Regions from separate parts of the Homo sapiens genome. Here region 1 is linked to region 2. The links are contacts of gene promoters, found by promoter capture Hi-C in blood cells and fetal thymus (Javierre and others, 2016). All regions are on one chromosome and are shown on one strand. The core of a region is centred on a gene start or on the middle of the fragment in contact, and the rest is flanking DNA. Distances in the headings are between cores, read along the strand shown.

Region 1 (5,389 bases), core at 2,670-5,169, 570 kb after region 2:
TGCTCAGGAGCATCTGGTCCTGAGCCACACAAAACGTCAGGTGCCCCAGGCTTGGGGCACAGCTGTCCAGCCCCACTCTCTGTGTGCAGGCCCGGCTGGCCCTGAGGTCCAGGGAGGAGAATCTCCCTCCCTGGAGAAGATGCTCTTTGGCCAAATGCTACTGAGGGTGAAGGTAGGAGGGGTGGGAGGGTGGAGGTGAAGGGCGCCGGGTCTTTTCCCAGAAGTCTTCCTTTCTCCTGGACTCTGCTTGTTTAGTAAGCCCAGCAGTTCATCAACCTGCCTAACCCCCTTTGAAGTCATCAGCCAGTAACGGTGCTGCAGAGTGAGGGCTGGGGGTGGGGTGGTGGGTTTCAGGCATTAGGAGTCAGCCTCCTTTCCTTTTTGCTATTCTGAATGCTCTTCCCCGCTTTGTGGCGCTTTCTCTGATGGTTAAATCGTATATTCCCTTCCCGAGCCTTTCCCAGCTTCTCCTTCCAGGGCCAAGAGATTGAAAGTGGGAAGTGGGTAAATTTCCTCTATATTTGTGCATTTTCTCCTCCCCACAATTAAATTCCTTTCTGGGTAGGAAGAAAAAAGTAATAAATGGTTTGTTGATAAAGGCGACAAGGAGAAAGAAGAGTTTATGAAATTTGTGCTTTCTCCCAGGAGATTTACTTGCTAAAACGTCCCTTGCTTGCATGGAGTCCCACAGCCAACAGCCTAAATTCCCGGCTCTCCCGACCCTATGGGCTTCCGGGCATTATGCAGGCTGGGAAGAAGGGGTTCTTTGGGATGCCCCACCCTACAGAGGGGAAACCTGCTCCATCAAAACCTGGGTTGGTCCCAGGCCTCTTCCTGTCCTCGCCATCACTTTCCCAGAGAGCGGTAACAAGGATATGTCTCTTCTGTCTCATCTCACTCGCCCTCCAGCTTTCAGGTTCAGTGTAACATGGGGAGTGGGTGGTCCCCTGCCCTCCAGAGGCCATGTAGCCTGCTGACCCCCAAGCCTGCCTGTTCCTCAGAAACACCTGGCAAATTTAAAATACAAAAACAAATGGATTTCCAGGCCCACACGCCAGCTCTGCTGAATAAGAATCTCCTAGGTAGGTACCTGGAAATCCATACTTTTAATAAGTTTCCAAGGTGACAGAGATGCAAACTGTCCACAGACCCGTGTGGGAGACCCACTGATTGTAGTGCATGCCGTATGTCCACATAAACCAACCCAGACTGAGAGATGTTAGCACTAAAGATTATGGGGTGGAGGCCACCTGGTGAACCCGTTCTTGTATTTCATAGACCTCCTCTGTTGGGACAGCTCCCCTGGGACCCAGTGCCAGTCCTGGATCTATTTCTTCACATCCCAGTCCTCAGTTTATCCTCCAAGGGGCAGTAGATCAGCTCTCCACACCCTCCCCATAAATAACTTTGATATTTTTTGAGGCCTGCTCTGAGGTCTTCCTTTTTAGCTTGCTTATTTCTGTCAAAGGAACTCTCCATTTCTTCAGCCTCATCGGGATGTTTGCCCCGCCATATTTTGGAATAAGCCAAATGATGGGCCGAGGGCTGCAGGAAAGAGTAGGTCAGTGAGAGCAGAGGTTTTCGTCAATGTGCTTAGAAGCTGGTTGCATTAACCCAAGTGCCAGCATTGGCACTCCCAGAGGTGACCTATGGGGGTGGGGATGGGAATGGGTGGGACTGGTACCAGCCTAAAGTGTATAACGGGTAGGCTGCTTCTCTAGCGTACGTGATCGGAGACCAGAGGATTGAAAACCCTAGTGCAGAATCTCAGCACACTGATGAGGATGAAAATAGCCTCCCATTCCACTCCTCCTGCTGCGCACGAGGCTGGGGCATCTTGCAGGGCGCGTGTCATGGAGCAGCGCACCCAGGCAGAGAGACAGACTTGCTCTCGGGGCCTCGCCAGTGCAGGGAATCACACCTGCTCACAAGCCTGGATGCCAGAATGTGGGTTTCCCTCTGGCCCACGGGCTCCCTGAGCTGTGGTTTCCGTTTAAGCACACGGGCTCCGGCCGGCAGGTGGGAACAGAAGAAGCACGGGCCAGGGCAGAGGACAATCACCCGTGAGGCTGAAGAAGCACAAGCTGCAAGGCCCCTCCCTTTCACAGGCTCCTCTCACAGCCTTTCCTTTCCCATTTAGATAGTCACTTCTCTACTCAGGACTTCATATTATTTTCTTCAACTGTGTAAGCATCAAGCCTTGTAAACCTGGCACTTCCCCGGCCTGGTGAACTCACCGTTGCGTACAATCTTCCTTTACTGTTCATGGCAACGAAGAGGGCACTTCTCACTCCAAAGAGACTCACCACGCCTCGCTCCACAGTGGAAATTTCCAGCAGGCCTGACAAGGAAAGGGGGGCCACATTACCTAAGGCTTGTGCAAATCAGAGTGGGAACTTGAGCCGACAAGGGCATCTCAGTCCATCCCCCTTCTCCTAGAAAGCCAGACTCTCCATTGCCCCATCCATGATCCCTCTAACTCTAGGAGACCCTGGCTGCTGGACTCATCGAGTGCTGCCATTGTGCTGTTAGAAATCCAGTTCTGCAAGGGAAGGTTCTGATAGCAGAGTTAGGGGCTGCAGTGACCACTTAGCTATCTGTTTAAGATGAGCTTTGAATCTGGGCTTTCAGTGACATAATTACTTGAGGTCCTTGACTTGAGTAAAAAAATAAATTCTGATTCTTCTTCTTCTTCTTAATGTGTACTCTACATGTTTCAACAAATCTCAACCCACTTAATCTTGAAAACACAGCAGCCACACCATAGCTGATGGCTTTCTTGGATCCTGCAGCCCCCATCCTTTCTTGGATAGGAGACTAACCATACAGCAAGCTGGCAGCTTGCAGGCAGCTTGCAGGATAAGAACCTGGGGACAGAGGGAGCCGCTGAAATAAAAAGAAGGATGTGCTTCAGTTGGACATTTTGCAATTGAATTTCCCTTCCTTCTCCAAGAAAGAAGCTGAATAAAAATGAGCTTGTGTCAAATTTGATCCAAGTATACTAACTGATTCTCCCTACCCAGGCCTTGGGGGCTTCCCAGACTAATGGTTCCTAATGGTCTTACAAGGCATCAGATGGGCCAGTAATGCTGAAATAGTTAGTGCCACTGAGGATCTAACCAAGGCGATGGCAAAGAACACCAGGATGCTTGGACCGCAGTATATTGAGCTTGCACCCAGGCAGGGTCACGTGGAATCATCTAAGTGGTGAGCAGCATTTCTGCCCCCTTTATCGTGCATCCTGTCCGCTAGAGCAGGGCCCCTTCACCTTTTAGCCCTGCATGAGCCCAAACCCCCAAGCGTCCCGACTGGCTGCAGCTGGCACTCACTGTAGGGGTTCTCCTCGTGGGTCCCGCTGATCCGGCCGTCGGGGAGCACCTGGAGGTGAAAGCCGATGCCCACGTTGCAGTAGAGCCTCCGCTGCCGCTTGATCCCCACCAAATAGCCACTTTCCCAGTTCACCCCGGCAATCTCTCCAGCTAGCCCGGCGCGAGACCTGGACAGCAGGGTGCCCCAGCCCCTCGAGTCCAGCAGCGTGTTGTTGGCACGGGTGCCTGCAGGCGAGGGCACCACCATGCCCACTAGGATGCCTAGGAAGACGAGAGCCCACAGCGTGCCCTGCAGACGTCCTGCTCCCCGGGACATAGTGATGAACAGTTTCTGTCCCAGGGCCATCCACCTTGCCTCTCAGGCACGTGGTCAGAATTAATGGCCCTAAAAATACCGCCCTTCTTGTTTTTCTCCCTCCGGCATGGCGGCAGGGGCTTATTTTTGGAAGGCAGATGAAGGCTGCTGACATGAAACCAAAGCCTCCATCGGGCACTCGGGTTGAGAGCAGAGGGACCCAGGCTGAGCCGCGGCCGGTAGAGACCATGGCTCGGGGACGCTCTCTAGCTCGCCCGCTTGCTCCGTCCCTAGTTGATGATATTTGATTTGACCTATCTTTATAGTTGCTTCAGCAGCCCGGCCCTCCCCTCCACCCATCATCGCCCTGACGTCAACCCGCCCAGCTCACTTATCCAGGGCTGTAACATTAACCTGCTCTTGGGCCTGGCTGCCTCCCCAGACCCCCATCACCCTCCACACTCCCCAGGGGTTCTGGGAGCCACTGTCATTCCAACTATGAGGCAGGAATGAAGTGAGCAGGGAGCATCTCTGGGGGAGGGGGGAGCTGGCTGGGGGCCCAGGGAAAGAGAGAGGCGAGAGGCCACCCAGGACCCATATTGGGCAGAAGTTCTTTGCCTGGCAGCGCTGGCTTCCTTATTTAGAGGGCAATAGGTAGAGGCAGGGATGGGAAAAGGCTTGTGGTAGTGATGACCGTAGCCTCAAGTCACCCTTGAGATCTTTTCATGGAAACAGCTCATGGTGGAGGGGAACACTGAAAGGCCAAACCCTTTCAGCAGGAGGGCACAGACATTCTCAGGGGGTGGGGATGGGGGTTGTTCAAGGAGCTTTAAGATTGTGGAGGGAAGGAGGGCAAGGGCAAGGTTTGCCTGCTCACTGTCCTGGTCCCGACATTCACCTGGGGTGGAAGTTGTGTCTGGCCTTTGACACAGCCCCCTGGCCATTCTCCCTGGATTTATCCCTGGCATGTGACTGATATTATTCCCATTTCACAGATGAGGAAGTTGAGGCTTAGAGAGGATAAATGACCTGCCCGAGTTACCATAGCTAATAAGTAGCAAAGCCAGAACTTCTAAGGTGTGCCTGAGTCTAAAGCCTGTGCATGTCTAATGCTTGCAGTAGAAGTTGGCTGGCCCATAGAGTCTGTTTAGCTCCTTAAATGCCAATAGCACATCACAGAGTTATTTCAGTAGCATAAAATGATTTATTTCTTAAAAAAAACTTGAGTGTCTTTGATGTACATGAGAACTTCTATATTTGCAGATAACTTTTGCTGGGCTGATATTACACTCAGAAACTAGTAAAAATATTTCTGCCAGGAAGTTATTCCTACACTGATTTATCTTATTCCCATATTACTTTTAAATAGATTACATGTCTAACTGAAGTGAGAAAAAAAATGTAAAGCTACCAGAAAACTCACTGCACAAATTTCTATACAATATAAGACAGAACTATTAATACGTCTCTGAGGGTGAATAAGTTAACAAGGGTCGCTGGGGAATTGAATTAACTTGAGTTAAAAATCCTGTTTCTTGTACTTCAATCCAGGCCTTAATCTGTTGGTGAGACATTAGCACTGATTTTGCCGGGATTGGAGAGAGTATGTGTGGGGTGATGACAGTGGCATACAGATGGATTTGAGTGTCCTGAGCAGTAGAGCTGGTCCCAGCAGGCAGCTCCCTTAGCCACACTCTACACCCACATTGCAGGCTGCAGGCAGCCTGGAAAAGCTCCTGGGGTGAGTTCCATGGCCCAAGGACTC
Region 2 (5,573 bases), core at 703-3,202:
TACTATGCTGTACAGATTTCTAGGTTAAGAGCAATAGGCTATTCCATATAGCCTTAGGTGTGTAGCAGGCTTATGAAAGTACACTCTATGACGTTGGCACAATGAAAAAAATCACCCAGCAATGAACTTCTCAGAACATATCCCCATTGTTAGGAGGCGCACGACTGTATTTAGTCCAACAACTTGCTGAAATGTGATTCTACCATTTTTCCAGTCAACTCCTAAGTTTTAAATACCATACATCTGCCACCTTACCAGGCAGTTTCAACCATAACAACAGAAGAATACTCTTGGCAAATAGATCCCACTCTCTGAGGGTTGTGTTGGGGCTCAGAAAATACTACCCCGAAGTATGACACTTTGGCATGCTGAATACTTTGAACTAAAAGAGATTGGAAGGCCTCAGAAGCAGCCTCGGAAGCAGTCTCTCCCTCTGATCTCCTGCCCTTCTGTCTCCTGCCCATCTTTCGTCCCAGAAGTGAGTCACAGAAACCAGAATTCTTCCCCAAGGTGAGTGATAGAAACTAGGATCCCTCTCCTACAAAGCAAGCCATAAAAACTGGAACTATTAAGCTTTCCCTGCCATTGTCTATAGGAACTGGCCATAAAGAAATTCTCTAATCTACCTTGCCTGATAGTAGGTCGCTAAGACCCTCATTCCAGAAGGGACCTTCCTCCTCCGTAGGAGGAAGAAATGATACACAGAGAGGCCAAGAAGAATCTGAACAAACAGACCTTGCTGGGCTTCCTTCCTCAGTTTATTAACATTAGAGTATATCCTTTGTCCAGTCACATTTTTACACAGTTGTCTATTCTTCATGGGTCCTACGCATAAAAATAGAGATCTCCCTGGTCTCTGAAGTGCCTGGTGGTGTAAAACTTTGATTAGATTTGCTCTGCTTTTACCTTGTTAACCTATCTTCTGTTTTAAGGAGTGGTGGCTGTGATCCTTACAATGGGTGGTGAGGAAAGGTACTAAAGTTTTCGGCCCCTACGTTGCACTTTAAATAAATAAATGTATAAAAGCAAAGTAGACAAAGACACATGAAGTCATAATGAAAATACCAGAGTCAGCCAAGGAAGAAGGCAGACTTGCAGTTGAAATGCTCCAGATCACTTTGTCCACCGAACGAAAACATCTAAGAACATACAGTCCATACTCCAAGTTTTAAACGACTGTCCACCAAGAAGGGAAAAGGAGAACTGATGGCTCCTCTTAGGCCCATTCAAGACAAGGGGGTCCCAATTCCCTTGCTTTAGACTGGTGGGACTGGCAGGTAAACCTGAGGCAAATGACTGACTACAGGTTCCAAGGCCAGTTACTCCAATTAGAAAGCAAAACACAAAGTTTCAAAAAACAGTGAAGGCAGTCGGGAGGCTGAGGCACGACAATCGCTTTAACCCGGGAGACGGAGGTTGCGGTGGGCCGAGATCACGCCACTGCACTCCAGCCTGGACAACAGTGCGAGACTCCGTCTCAAAAACAACAACAACAACAAATGGTGAAGGGATGAGGCTGAAACATCACGGGAAGTAAAATAAATAATTGTAACAAGAAAACAATAAAGCATTGGAGAATCCACCCAGGCACTTCCACTGCTTAAAAAGGTACAGACTACAGAAGCCAAAAGGCCCGGGAACTCCGGTCCCGGAACTCAACACCCAGACTGAAGCGAGCGCGGGGAAGCAGTTCCGGTGACCCCCTCCCGCCCCTCTCTCATCAACCCCGCCCCCTGGGCCCGCCCCGTCCCGCCCGGCTACTCACTGGATTCGCTTCCCACATAACGGTGACAAAATCGAGCGGAGAGAGCCTGTGGGAAGGGGCTAGCCGCGGGGCCTGGGTGTTGGATTTTTTTTTTTCCCGCGGGTCCCCGGGAGCGAAGGGACGGAGATGCAACCTTTACGAAGGCCTTCCTCCTCCCCCTCCCTGTCACAAGCCAGCGTTTACAGACCACCCAACCTCCCGACTTCCGCCCGACGTTGGCCAGTCAGATCTGTCTCCGCCCCACTCCTACAAGCTCGCCCCGCCCCTGCACGCTTATCCATACGCGCGCGGGCGGTCGTCCTGGGCGGGGCTTGCGAGTCTGTGTCTGACGAAGGAGTTTAAAGGGTTTCTGGTCCAACTGTATCACCCAGTGATCTTAAAGCCACGGCTGGCTGTATTTCTTTCCTATGAAACAAATTTTTATTGATCACCGTGTAACGACCAAGAGTCACACAGGCCTGGCAATGGCATTTGGGAGAAACTTCATAATCTTTCAATATCTTCATCCTCAAAATGGAGATGGTAGTAATATCTCCCTATGAGTGAGATTATTGAAAGCATTTAGCACAGTATTTGGCACACAGAGTTCAATAAGTGACGGTTATTTGCTCACAAGGGAACCTTTACATACTATCCCTGCCCTCAAGATTTTATAATCTAGAAAAGAAAGCAAAAAGTAGTTTAGAAAAGTTAAAAAGTGCAATATGATTTATAGGTAATATGGTGAATAGAGAGTGCTATGCGAGCATATTTACCTAGAGTAGAGTGTCAGGAAAGCTCCCTCAAGATGTTTAAAACCATGAGGATGTATTCCTACTGATGTAAAGAGAGCTAACAGAGTGAAATAATCTTCCATGCAACAAAGGATCTACCCCATAGGAAATGAAAATTAAACAGCTCATTATAGATCCTTCTGGACTTTTCTATGCCTCTACACATTGAAAAAAATGTAATCAAAGAATACCTATAGATTTAGAACCTGATTTTTTTTTCACTTTAAAGATTATGTGGCTATCCTTCCATTCCATTAAGTTTAAATCTGTTTCATCATTTTATTTATTTATTTAGGCAGAACCTCGCTCTGTCGCCCAGGCTGGAGCGCAGTGGCGCCATTTTGGCTCACTGCAACCTCCGCCTCCCGAGTTCAAGCGATTCCCGTGCCTCAGGCTCCTGAGTAGCTGGGATTACAGATGTGCGCCACCACGTCCCGCGAATTTTTGTATTTTTAGTAGAGACAGGTTTTCGCCATGTTGGCCAGGCCAGTCTCGAACTCCTGACCCCAGGTGATCCACCTGCCTTGGCCTCCCAAAGTGCTGGGATTACAGGTGTGAGCCATCTTGCACCCGGCCATATTTTAAAGTAGACTCATGGCATTCCATAACTTATGCGTATACTACGTACACACAAATAGACACACACATTTGAAATAATCTACTGAATAGACGTTTGAGTGGTTTTCTATTTTTCACTATCCCAAAAAAATCCTTCAACAGGCATTTCTTCACATTTGTCCATTTACTTCTTGGAATTAATTCCTGGAAATAAAATAGTTTACTAAGAGATTATTTTTGCCAAATGGTTGACCAGTTGCCCCCATGTCATTTAGTGAATATTCTTTCCTCACTACTTTGAAGTGCCACTGTTAATTACAACCTAAATTTGCATATACATATACATAGGTATACATACACGTATATATCTGTTTCTGAACATTCTCCTCTATTAATTATCTGCTTATTCCTAAAATATGCCACAGTTATAATCATTACATATTTAATATATTTGCCTTTTCATAAAGGAACCTCTCCTAATTCTCTTCTTTTTCAAAATTTTCAATATCATGGGTCTTTCCATTCAGAAATACTTGTTTTCTGTATCTTTAGATGCATTAACAATTTTTTTTCAGATCTGCATCAGCATCTGTAAAAAAAAAAAAAAAATCACATAGGTTTGCATAATCCTTGGGAAGTTTGTTCCTAGATATTTTATAGTTTTTTTGTAAGTGAGATATTTCTTATTGCTGTAATTTAGGAAAGCTATTGACTTTTGTTTATTTACCTTGTATCCTACCACACTATGAAAAAATGTCTTGTTAGTTCTAATAGCTTGACAGCTCATCTCTATGAATTTGTACACAGACAATCATTATCACCTGCAAATAATGCGTTTCTTTCTTCCTATTGCATTGGTCAAAACATCAGAAAAATGTTTAAGACTACAGGACAAGATAATGGATATCCAGCTTTAATGCAGTAAGGCAAGCATGTGCCCATTTGGTGCTAGTGCTAGTTGGTATTCTTTTTTTTTTTTTTTGAGCTGGAGTCTCGCTGTGTCGCCCAGGCTGGAATACAGTGGCACAATCTGGACTTACTGCCACCTCTGCCTCCTGGGTTCCAGCAATTCTCCTGCCTCAGCCTCCCGGGTAGCTGGGACTACAGGCACATGCCATCATGCCTGGCTAATTTTGTATTTTTAGAAGAGATGGAGTTTCACCATGTTGGCCAGGTTGGTCTCGAACTCCTGACCTCAGGTGATCCACCCGCCTCAGCCTCCCAAAGTGCTGGGATTACAGACGTGAGCCACTGCGCCTGCTAGTTGGTGTTCTGAAAATACACTATCATCTTTAAAGAAATTTTCTTCTATCCTGTTTTACTACATGCTGTTAAATCAGGAAAGAGTGCAAAATTTTACCAACTGTCTCTTAGCCTCTATCACTATATTTGTTTTTTACTCTGACTCTTTTATATAATGAATTATGCTCATTGATTTCCTAGTGTTCAACACATTCTTACATTTCTGAAATAAACTCTGCTTTGTCATGTTCTATTATTTTTTGATCAAATGAAAGCCATGCTGGGTTTGATTTGTTAATCTTTTATTTAGGATTAAAATGTATTTATAATTAATAAAATTGGTCCATTGTTACTGATTTTTGTGCTTGTCTGTAACAAGTTTTGGTATCAGAGTAATGCTAGCCTTGAAGAATGAACAGTAGCAGTTTAAGTAATTTAGGAACTAGCTCTTCCTTGAAGTTGGAAGCGAATTTTTACAAAGCAGGTTTAACTAGAAAGGTTAGAGCCAGGTCCTCAATCTTTTGTGAGGCTGGAGCTATACTTTGTTTTCTTGAAGATGTGGAGTTGCCTGAGCTGGTGGTAGGAGAGTGGGATGGAGAGAACACAACTGGTTTGAGTACATATTGAGTGAACAATTCCTTAAAATATACTGCTCTATACCTAAGTAACATGAAGGGAAGTGAAAACGGCTATACGAATTTTAGTGATTTTTTTGCTTATTTTTACTGCTTTAGGACCACTGAGTTAAACAGCAAGTATTGGAAGCGTCCTTAATGATTATTTAGCACACACAAAGTATTTAAACTTTTTTTAAATAAATGGCCACTATTTTAAAACTGGGAAATTTCAAATTTAATAATATGGGCCTCCAGTTTTGCTTTCACACTGTATTCCCATATGTCAACAACTGACTGAAGCCATGTTGACTCCTTTAGACTGGGAATGGGCTGTCAGTCTCGTTTAAATTACCTTCCTAGGCCCTTTCAGGTATTTGGGCTTATACCCAATGAGACACCTCTTATCTTGCTGAGGCAACATAATAGATCTAGGACTTCCTAAAATATCCTCACAGAAAACAACTTTACCGAACTCTCCCATAACTTACTCAAGAGTGAGCTCCATCACTGTAGCCCAAACTCTTGTGGTCTTTAGCAGATGATGGCAGTTCCCCCTTATCTGCAGGGGATACATTCCAAGACCCTCAGTGGCTGCATGAAACCACAGAAAGTACCAAA

Evidence for each region. The method cuts DNA at HindIII sites, captures the fragments that hold promoters and counts their contacts. A CHiCAGO score of 5 or more calls a contact.
Region 1: the fragment with the promoter of FGF6 here is called in contact with the fragment with the promoter of PARP11 in region 2 in 1 of 17 cell types (monocytes); the score reaches 5.9 in monocytes.

Annotation. Positions count from the first base shown.
Region 1 is chr12:4,441,896-4,447,284 of GRCh38, forward strand. It overlaps FGF6 (fibroblast growth factor 6), which reads right to left and starts at 3,920. Exons shown (of 3, transcript NM_020996.3): 1 at 3,330-3,920; 2 at 2,238-2,341. The coding sequence starts at 3,675. RefSeq lists an enhancer at 1-604. The HindIII fragment of the contact is 8,014 bases long and covers 1-5,389 here.
Region 2 is chr12:3,871,447-3,877,019 of GRCh38, forward strand. PARP11 (poly(ADP-ribose) polymerase family member 11) reads right to left here and starts at 1,953. Exons shown (of 8, transcript NM_020367.6): 1 at 1,766-1,953. The coding sequence starts at 1,783. It overlaps PARP11-AS1 (PARP11 antisense RNA 1), which reads left to right. Exons shown (of 2, transcript NR_183432.1): 1 at 1-510. RefSeq lists a silencer at 1,621-1,730 and enhancers at 2,402-2,922, 2,923-3,442. The HindIII fragment of the contact is 6,718 bases long and covers 572-5,573 here.